Regions from separate parts of the Homo sapiens genome. Here region 2 is linked to region 1. Evidence: promoter capture Hi-C in 16 types of primary human blood cells and fetal thymus (Javierre and others, 2016). All regions are on one chromosome and are shown on one strand. Each heading gives the region's core, a stretch centred on a gene start or on the middle of the fragment in contact. The rest is flanking DNA. Distances are from core to core; before and after follow the strand shown.

Evidence for each region. Contacts are between HindIII fragments. The CHiCAGO score rates a contact against its expected background, and 5 or more counts as called.
Region 2: a contact is called between a fragment that was not itself captured here and the fragment with the promoter of HMX2 in region 1, in 1 of 17 cell types (naive CD4 T cells). The highest score is 6.2, in naive CD4 T cells.

What each region holds. Positions count from the first base shown.
Region 1 is chr10:123,146,377-123,150,631 of GRCh38, reverse strand. It overlaps HMX2 (H6 family homeobox 2), which reads right to left and starts at 2,496. Exons shown (of 2, transcript NM_005519.2): 1 at 1,986-2,496; 2 at 1-1,062. The coding sequence starts at 2,253. The coding sequence ends at 509. RefSeq lists silencers at 385-679, 1,787-1,916, 2,307-2,626. The HindIII fragment of the contact is 9,748 bases long and covers 1-3,785 here.
Region 2 is chr10:123,248,563-123,252,817 of GRCh38, reverse strand. No RefSeq gene overlaps it. Among named protein-coding and RNA genes, the nearest start is that of BUB3, 96 kb to the right of the region's middle. The HindIII fragment of the contact is 4,437 bases long and covers 1-4,093 here.

The DNA of each region.
Region 1 (4,255 bases), core at 1,247-3,746:
TTACAGATCTGAACTCTCCCCTTTTCGTCCCTACCATCCTCGGGATGAGGGAAACGAAAAGAAGCAATTTAGTAATTGTCCAAAGCCTCTGAGGGCCTGGCTTGGCCGAGCGTGTATGCATGTACATATATACAGGTGTATATATGGGGGAGGAGTGTACCTGGTTTTGTAGGTGTTTTCCTGATTTTTTTCCCTACCAACCACAGCCTGTCTGGCCAAAACTCCCTTTCCCACCACCACCCGAGAACATCTCACTCCGAATGGTTTTCAAAGCGTACTGGTTCGGTCTAGGTAGGAAGCAGGCTCTCTGACTTAGGGAATGCCAATAAATACCCGAAACAATCAAAACAAAAAGTAGGGCAGAGACCATAAATAAGAGCTAATGAATACACATGGTGTATTTCTTCATATTTCTGGAAACACGCCGCCTTGCTCCGGAGCCCTGCTTACAGTACAGTACGCGCCCGGCTCTGCGGGCAGCTGGGGGCGGCGCGGGGCGGCGGGCCGGTCAGTAGTCGAGCTTGTTGTATAGGTTGTAGAGAGGTAAGGCCGAGAGGTTGCTTCCCGGGTAGTAGAGCGGCGCGGGAAAGGCGAGCGAGCGCGGCACCGGCACGCGCAGCAGCGAACTGTCCCGGAACACCAGCGGCATGCTCACCAGAGTCTGCGCCGACGCGTGCGCCATGTTGGCCGCCTCCAGCTCAGCCGAGAGCTGCCGCTTCCACTTGTTGCGGCGGTTCTGGAACCAAGTCTTTACCTGGGTCTCCGTGAGCTGCAGGCTGGAGGCGAGGCAGGCGCGCTCCGAGCTGCTCAGGTAGCGCTTCATGTCGAAGGTGGACTCGAGCTGGTACACCTGGCTGCGCGAAAAGACGGTGCGCGTCTTCTTCTTGGCCGCGCCGGCCTGCCGCTCAGCGCCGCCGTCCCGCGGCCGCTCGGACCCCGGCGAGGGCGAGCCCGCGGGCAGGAGCCTCTCTTTCTCTTCTTTAAAGTCCGAGTGCGAAGGAGAGAGGAAAGGCGTGCGCTCCAAGCCGCCCGGGCCCGAGCCTCCGCTGCCCTTGGGGGTACCTGAGGAGCGAGAACAGACAGAAAGGCCATGGAGTTGGTTGGGGAGCCTCGGAGACCGCCAGCTCTCCCTGGGACCAAGCGGTTGGCAAGCGCCTGCAGCCTTGGTCCCACCTTACCAATCCCCTCCTCTTATCCCTCTCACTGGCCCCCCAAACCCAGCACCCCGTCCTTTAAAAGCGACAAGAGAGGGACCCAGCTACTTGGAGTATGGGGTCTCTGTGCTCCCACCTTTATGAATGGGCCAGGGGCAACAGGGAGAGGAGGTCTGGAGGGGGAAACATTAGCATGGTTTTAAAAGGCGAATTTGCTTGGTGGTAATTGAGCTGGAAGAGTTCCTCGAGCTTTATAGGGTGGCATCATTTCACAGGCCGTTTGTTTGGAAATCACGCTAAGGACTAACGCAGGACTCCCCTTCGTCAAATGTTGTAAAGAGGAACCGTCTCTGAAATGCACCATTGTCAATCATCTTGGAGTGCTAATCATTCCAAGGAGGAGAGAGAGAGAAAGGCAGAGATACGGAGCGAGTGAGGAAGAAGACTCAGAAAGAGATTACGGTGGAGACAGACTGCCCAGACCCGACTTGCAGATCTCCACCTCGTGTCCGGAAAGAAAGTACCAGATGTGCAGTGATTGAGGACAGCCGGGTGTAAGGCCGGCCGCGTGTCCCTCTCGCTGTGGTCCACTCTCTCAACAACTCAACCTTCCCCAGGAAGCCCAAGCCGGCACGGGTCTGTGTTCGCCTGCTCCCAGGGGCCCACCGGGCGGAGGAGGCACCACAGTGCGCGCCCCTCTCCCCGCGGTCCCGAACCCCCGGCTGCCGCAGCTCTGGCCAGAGGGGGCCCGGCGCGGGAGTCTTGGCGGGGCGCTCAGCCTCCCTCCCCTCGCGCTCGCTCGCTGCCACACTGGCGACGTGCGATCCTTACCCAGGCAAGGAAAAGGGATGGGGGGATGGTGCTTGGGGCCCTGCTCCTTAGGGCCGTGCTGGTCTGGGCAGAAGCAGGCGGGCGCCTTCCAGCCGTCGTCCGGCTCCTCCTCCTCCGAGGACACGGACAGGCTGCGCTTCCTGGCTGGCCAGCCGACGGGCTCCCGCGGTGCCTCCGAGGGGCCCCCGCCCAGGATGGACTGGATGGTGAAGCTGGAGACGCCACCGGCCGCCGGACACCCCTTGCCCGCATCTTCTTTGCTGCCCATCCTGGGTTCATAAGAAATCGAAGGAAACCAAGAACTCCCTTTAGAGACGATCTGGGTGATCTGGGTGGAAGGTGGTGCAGCAGGCAGGCAGTGGGGAGGGGCGGGGAGGAAATCTAGGGGGAGGGGGCGCCGAGGCTGGTGAGGCGTCCCTTCCGCGCCAGGGACATGCAGGCACCGGATGGCTGCGCAGGGGTTCCTGCCCGCCTGGCTCTGGGTGCGCCCGCCCAGCCCCGGTGCAAATGCCCCTTCCTCGCCCGCCAACTCGCCGGGTCTCCGGCGGCGCGGAGGCGGCGCGGCCTCATTTGCATAGAGGTTACCCGAACGCGGCCAATCGCAGCGCCGCCGAGCGGCCCCGGAAAATTTCAAAACGCTCCGGCCAGGCACACAGCACCGGTGCGCCCCCAGAGCGCGCCGAGGGCCTGGCGGGCATCAGCGGCGTCTAACCAGGGGCAGCCAGGGCTGAAAGCAGCTGCAGATTCTAGCCCGGGTTCCTGGCGGCTGCGGCAACTCCGACTCCTTGGACCCCTTGGACCCTTCTCTCCAGAGGCAGGGGCGGTGCGGGACTCGGAGCTGGAGTGGCTCGACGCCTCCGCAGGCGACGGGTCTCCGCGCCTCCCAGGGGCTTGTACAGGCTGCTCCACCATCCTCCCCCAGCCCTCCACCCCTTCTAGCCCCAGTGGGCGGGCAAAGCCGGCACTCCTGGGACCGTGGCGCCCTGCGTGGGGGTGAGGTGGGTTAGGAGCAGGCGTCTCCAGGCGGACGCTCATCCTCTCCAGCATGGCCAGGAGCCTTGGGAGCAGACATTCCCCTTCCCCGTCTGCAGACCTCATCCCTGTCACAGGTTCTACGGACCTACAGAATCTTTAGGGGGAGGGAGGAAGCCCTAAGACCTCTAGTCAAGAGATCTGGGTTCAAATTCCGGCACAACTATTTACACACTGCATGAACTTGCACAACTCATGCCGATTAAAGCCTCTCTGCCCTCATAGTTGAAAATAACTTCTCGGATTGCCTCAGGTAGGGATTAAAAGCCTCGAAGCACTAGCAGCGCATAGTAGGTACTCCATAAACCTGGCCGGGTAGCCCATGGCCCACCCGTGTTTTAAGCGAATCTGTGTTTTTGTTTTGTAAATTTTGAAGGTTTCCGAACTGCTGCAGAAATAGACGCCTTACTCCCAGGAAGAAGATAAGGAACTGGTGACAGGACTCGGTTTTAGAATTGAGCAGACTCGACTCAATTCTCGGCTGGGTGATCTTGGGGGAAGACATTTGGAAATTCTGAGGCTCGGTTTCTTTATTCCTAAAATTGGAGGAAGCAGTGCCTCCCTCGCAGAGGCTGTTGTGAGGTCAAACTACCCAGCACCGAGCCTGGCACACCGTGGTGCTCAGTAAATAGTGATTCCCTCTGTGTTCTCATAGCCCCCTTCTGTGCCCTGGCTCTCGCCCCTTTAATTCCTAGATCAGCTGTTACCCGAGCTAGAATTAGCCCAGCCAAGCAAAGCGGTTTGGGGCCACAGTCGTCTGCACAAGCTTCCTGGAAACTGAAGTGAGGCAAGGCCCGAAGTGCTCAGGCAACCCCGTCCCCTCAAGCTGTGACCTCTAGACCTCTTGGCCAAGAGATTCCAGAAGCCCTGTCTTTAGGGTGCCCCCCAAGTGCAGCCAAGGGTGAGTGGAGACTCTGGAATCAGTCCCCACAAATGTCCAGACACTGCATGACTGTGCAGTTCCTTCCTCGCCTGCACCGCGCCCGGGTTATTAAGTAAAGCGCTTATAATATCATTAGCCGCGGTGAGTTACCGACTGCGGCCCTGCCCGTGGCAGAACTCTTCCCTACTTAACTCCTCGAGGGGCTCGTTAATGGGCTAATTGATTAGGAGTCGGCCGCGCAGCCGGGGCAGGGGCAGGCGAGGGGGCGGGGGCCAGGGGGTGCGCGCAGCGGCCCGGGAGGCCAGCGAGGGGCAGGTGCCGGCCTCCGTCACCGCATTAACCTCTTCAGGGCTCA
Region 2 (4,255 bases), core at 626-3,125, 100 kb before region 1:
CTCTAGGGAAAATAGATATTTTTCAAACGAGACCACCCTTCTCCCCTGGGGTGAGGGCATTGCACGGACCAGGCAAGGGTAGTAGACAATTCGAGATTCAGCAACCTTCCCTCCAAGTGGATGCAGTCTCTAGAGAGAACTGCCTTACAAGGAGAATGGATGGGAAAGAAGGAGGGAAGGAAAGAGGGAGGAGAAAAGATGTTTTTAAATTTGTGTGTGCGTAGTTTGCCACAGGAAGGTCTGCAGACTCTGGTCCCTGAGCTGGTGCAGAACCCCCACCTGCCAGCCAGAAAGGCTCTTCTCATTTGCCAAGGCCCTGTTCCACAGCCGGGACACTCACAAGACCTCATTTACAGAGAGGAGGATTGCTTCCTCCCGGCACAATTAAGAGTCCTTTGGAAAGTGAGCTTCCTGGGCCTCCTTGCTAAGCATTCCTCAGCCACCTTATCATCCCTCTCTTTTTTACCACTCTCCCCACTGGGCACTGGAGGGCTCAGCTCTGGGTGAGGTCCTGGGGTGGGCTGTAAATGAAGCAGAGATGCTTGGGTGGGAGACCTCAACTCCAGCAGAAAAATTGGGCCTTATTAAGGGGCTGGGAAGTCCTTTGCCATTTTATCAGTAGATGATTTTTTAGTATCACACACTATACACTTCACTTTATCTTTTTAAAAGGTGGAGGGAGGCTCATAGAAATCCATAAACAAAACCATTAACAAATAGAAAAGAATAGGGTAAGCGGGGGTGGCATAGAGGGTCTAGACACCTGGTTCTGCACCACAGGGTCCTACAAATTGCTAGAAGCCAGCCACAATTTGGGCTCAGAGCTTCCTCGTGGCAAAAGCAAAATGGGAAATACAATTGTATGGTCATAAAACTCATTGTTTCCAAATGATTGAATGTAAATTTTAAAATTTTGAAAAAAAATGTTTTTATTTGAAAAGAAAAATGTAAACAAAATCTTATACGTTAAAATTCAGAAATCAAGAAATAAAGGCATCATCTTAAAAAGTCAGATATTACTTCTTTCCTAGATTTTGTTTTTTCATGTAATATAAATCTCTGAAGATCATCAGTTGAAACTCCAATGCTATTTTTAACCATAAGAAGTATAAAAAGAAAAAAAAAGGACAAAATAGTATTGCCAGCACCTTTTAAAAGCTGAACAGCTGGGAGATAGTATGTGTTCACTATGTTGAACCACATTTAAATGACTCTAAATGGTCTGCTTTATGTTTTTGGAGTCATTAGAATTTTTCCAAAGCAGCTAAATGAATTTTCTGACCACTTTGGGCCATTTAAAGTATTAATTGATGTCACGCATTCAGTATGAAAAAGTCACATTTTGCTATTTCCAAAAAAAAGTTTCAGATTTTTTTAAAGAATATTTCTTGCTGCTTCTGCTATCTGGGAAATTACCTGCAATAATTGCATATAGTTTTGAAATGATCCGAAGTCAGAATTCTCAGTCCCTTCCTTGAATCTATTTTAAATTAGTGAGCATTTTTTTCCTATGGAAGCAATTTATAGTAATGATATATATATATACATACATATATATATATACATATATATATATGTATGTATATATATATATATATATGGAACCAGTAAAATGAAGAGACAGCCACTCTAAGACAAGCAGAGCATGTACTCTGGTCTTGCATCCCCAGAGAAGGAAACATTTTAAACTACCGCATTTTGATTTGACTATATCCTGTTGCCTGTCTGGCTCTGGGTTCTTCCTAAGGAATCACATTAAAGAATTCAAAAGGTGGGCTCGGAAACTCGGAAAAGGGAAAATTAAATTCCTAGAGAGGGTCAAGAATATCTTATTCATAAAGAGCCTCTTCTGCAGGACCTTGGAAACATGTAATATAACCTTCAAAGTAAAAACGGTTGTTGCATTAGTTCTGCTTAGCTGACCATGAATACTAATTGCAGGAAGAATTAACTGTGCCCAATACCTGGGGGCAGAAGCACACAAAAGTGACCGGGGAAGGCAAACAATGAATAAAGTAAAAATGAGCATCCACACCCCTATTCAACTCAACAGGATCTGCAACAAAACCCTAAATTACAAAGAAATCAGTATCTGCCTCTCACCCCCAGAGATTAAAAGAAAGAAGAGAAGCAACTGCAGCAAGATTGGAGTTTTTCAGTAAAAATAATACATGCTTTTGCTCTCATTCCTCTTATTCACATTCTGGGTTTTTTTGTTTGTTTGTTTTGTGTGTGTGTGTGTGTGTGTTTTTTTTCCTCCTTATTCTCTATTCCAGCTGTTGCTGTTCCTCTACAGGTTCAGGAACGTTATTACTCTTGCTCAGGCCTCCCATTTTGCATGGTATCTCTGCATGAGAGATAACCTGGTTGGTGAAAGAGGGCTTTGGGGTAAAACAGGGCCTGGATGTGAATTTCATCTCTGCAGTTTACTGGCCATGTGACCTTAGGTAAGTTACTAAACCTCTCTGGCCCTCTGTTTCCTCAGCTGTAAAATAGGGACAATAGTGTCCAGGTCACAGAAGTCTGAAGGAAAAAATGAGAAAATATCTTTGAATTGCCTGGCACATAACAAATCCTGAACAAGCACTACTCTTTGACGTGGAAGCTGCTGGAAATTCCTTTAACACATTCATCATCCCCTGCCCCTTCCAGGGAAGACCTGCTTCCAGCACACTCCCAGCCAGAGCTGATTGCCCAAACAAGAACACCTGACCCAGACTCAACCAACCACATTCTCTCTTCCTATAATGCAGAATTGGGCCATATTCCAATGTGGAATCCCTCTGGGAGAGACAGTTGTGGGGCAGCCATGTGTTGCCTTGTGCTGTACCCTGAAGTGGGGAAGAAATGTGGTATGCTAGAATCAGCTCATAAGTACCAGCTCCCAAGGACTGATTTCTTAAATTAGCAGGAATTCTGCAAGCCAAATTGTGAACACAACCATTATTAAAAATTAAATTATATAAATTTAAATTATATTTAAAACAAAGGTAATAAGTACTGAAATGCACCACTTCCTAATTATTTTATTATAGTTTATTATAATCTATGCTCCTGAGATTCTTTACAGCCATATATCTGTAAGGTGGGAATACTATATAATCATAAGCTATTGCACATCTCTTCCCAACTCTGCCTCCACATTGGTAGCTTTGAATCAGCCATGGTGGAAGTATTTACACCATGGAAATTGGCAACCACTGCAAATCGGGGCATCTCTTTCATCAGAGAATTGAGTATTAGACATTTACTACAACACCAGTGGAGAAAATTTCCAGGGAGAGGGAAAAAATGAGGTAGTGGCTCTTTGGAGCACAGAGGCAGGAGAGATAGAGACAACACACCCAGCTTCCCTATACTAAGACCATTCCTTTCCAGAAGCCTAGCTGTACTTCTGCTCTTGGGTTCCAGCAAAAACCTCTGCATCCTTACAGTGAATTCCTTTGTTGGGCTTAAACTAGCTCAAGTTGGTTTCTGCACCCCAATCTCAACCAAATAACAAAACATAAAATCAATGAGAACACTGAGCTCTCTCTTTGGGGTCATTTTAATCTATTCTTAGCTAAACAAAATAATAAAGCTCTAATCACTGGTCAGCCATTGTTGAGATTTTTTCTTAATCTTTGAATAATACACCTTGTATCCTGGAGATATTCCTGCTATTTCTTCCTCATCACCAAGAACAATCGAGCACCAGGCTCATTGGCTGGATCCCACGGGCCCCTCTGATTTCTCAGCAGTACTTGGTATTGCTCAGACCAACATTTGTGTAACTACTCCAGGCTGTGCATTAATTACTGTGACACCACACCAATGATCCAATTAGGTCTTAAATGTTTACTTAAGAGAAAGCTCTGTTCATCAAAGGAAGACGGGGTGGCTGGTGGGAAACCAGAACACATTCGGCATGGTAGGTGAACCTCGAGCTTGCTTTTCACATATCAGGTGAGCTCCCAGTCAATTCAGTTTCCCAGGAAAATCAAAATGATTTTAATTTTCAATTATTTCCTTCAACAAAAGCTGAAATTCAAGCTGCTTTTTTCTCCTCTTCTCCTACCCCCCTGCTCCAACTTCCTCTATACTTTGCTAAGCTTATTTTCCTTCTGCTTATGGCTTCCCGTACAGTGCAGTCTGCAGCCTCTTCAAGTCTGTTGGTTTTCAGGATATTAAGATGGCAGATTCTCTCTAAATAGAAGAGAAATGGTAATCATGGAAACCCCATTCAGAGTGGTCCTCCCAATTGAGGGCAACAGGT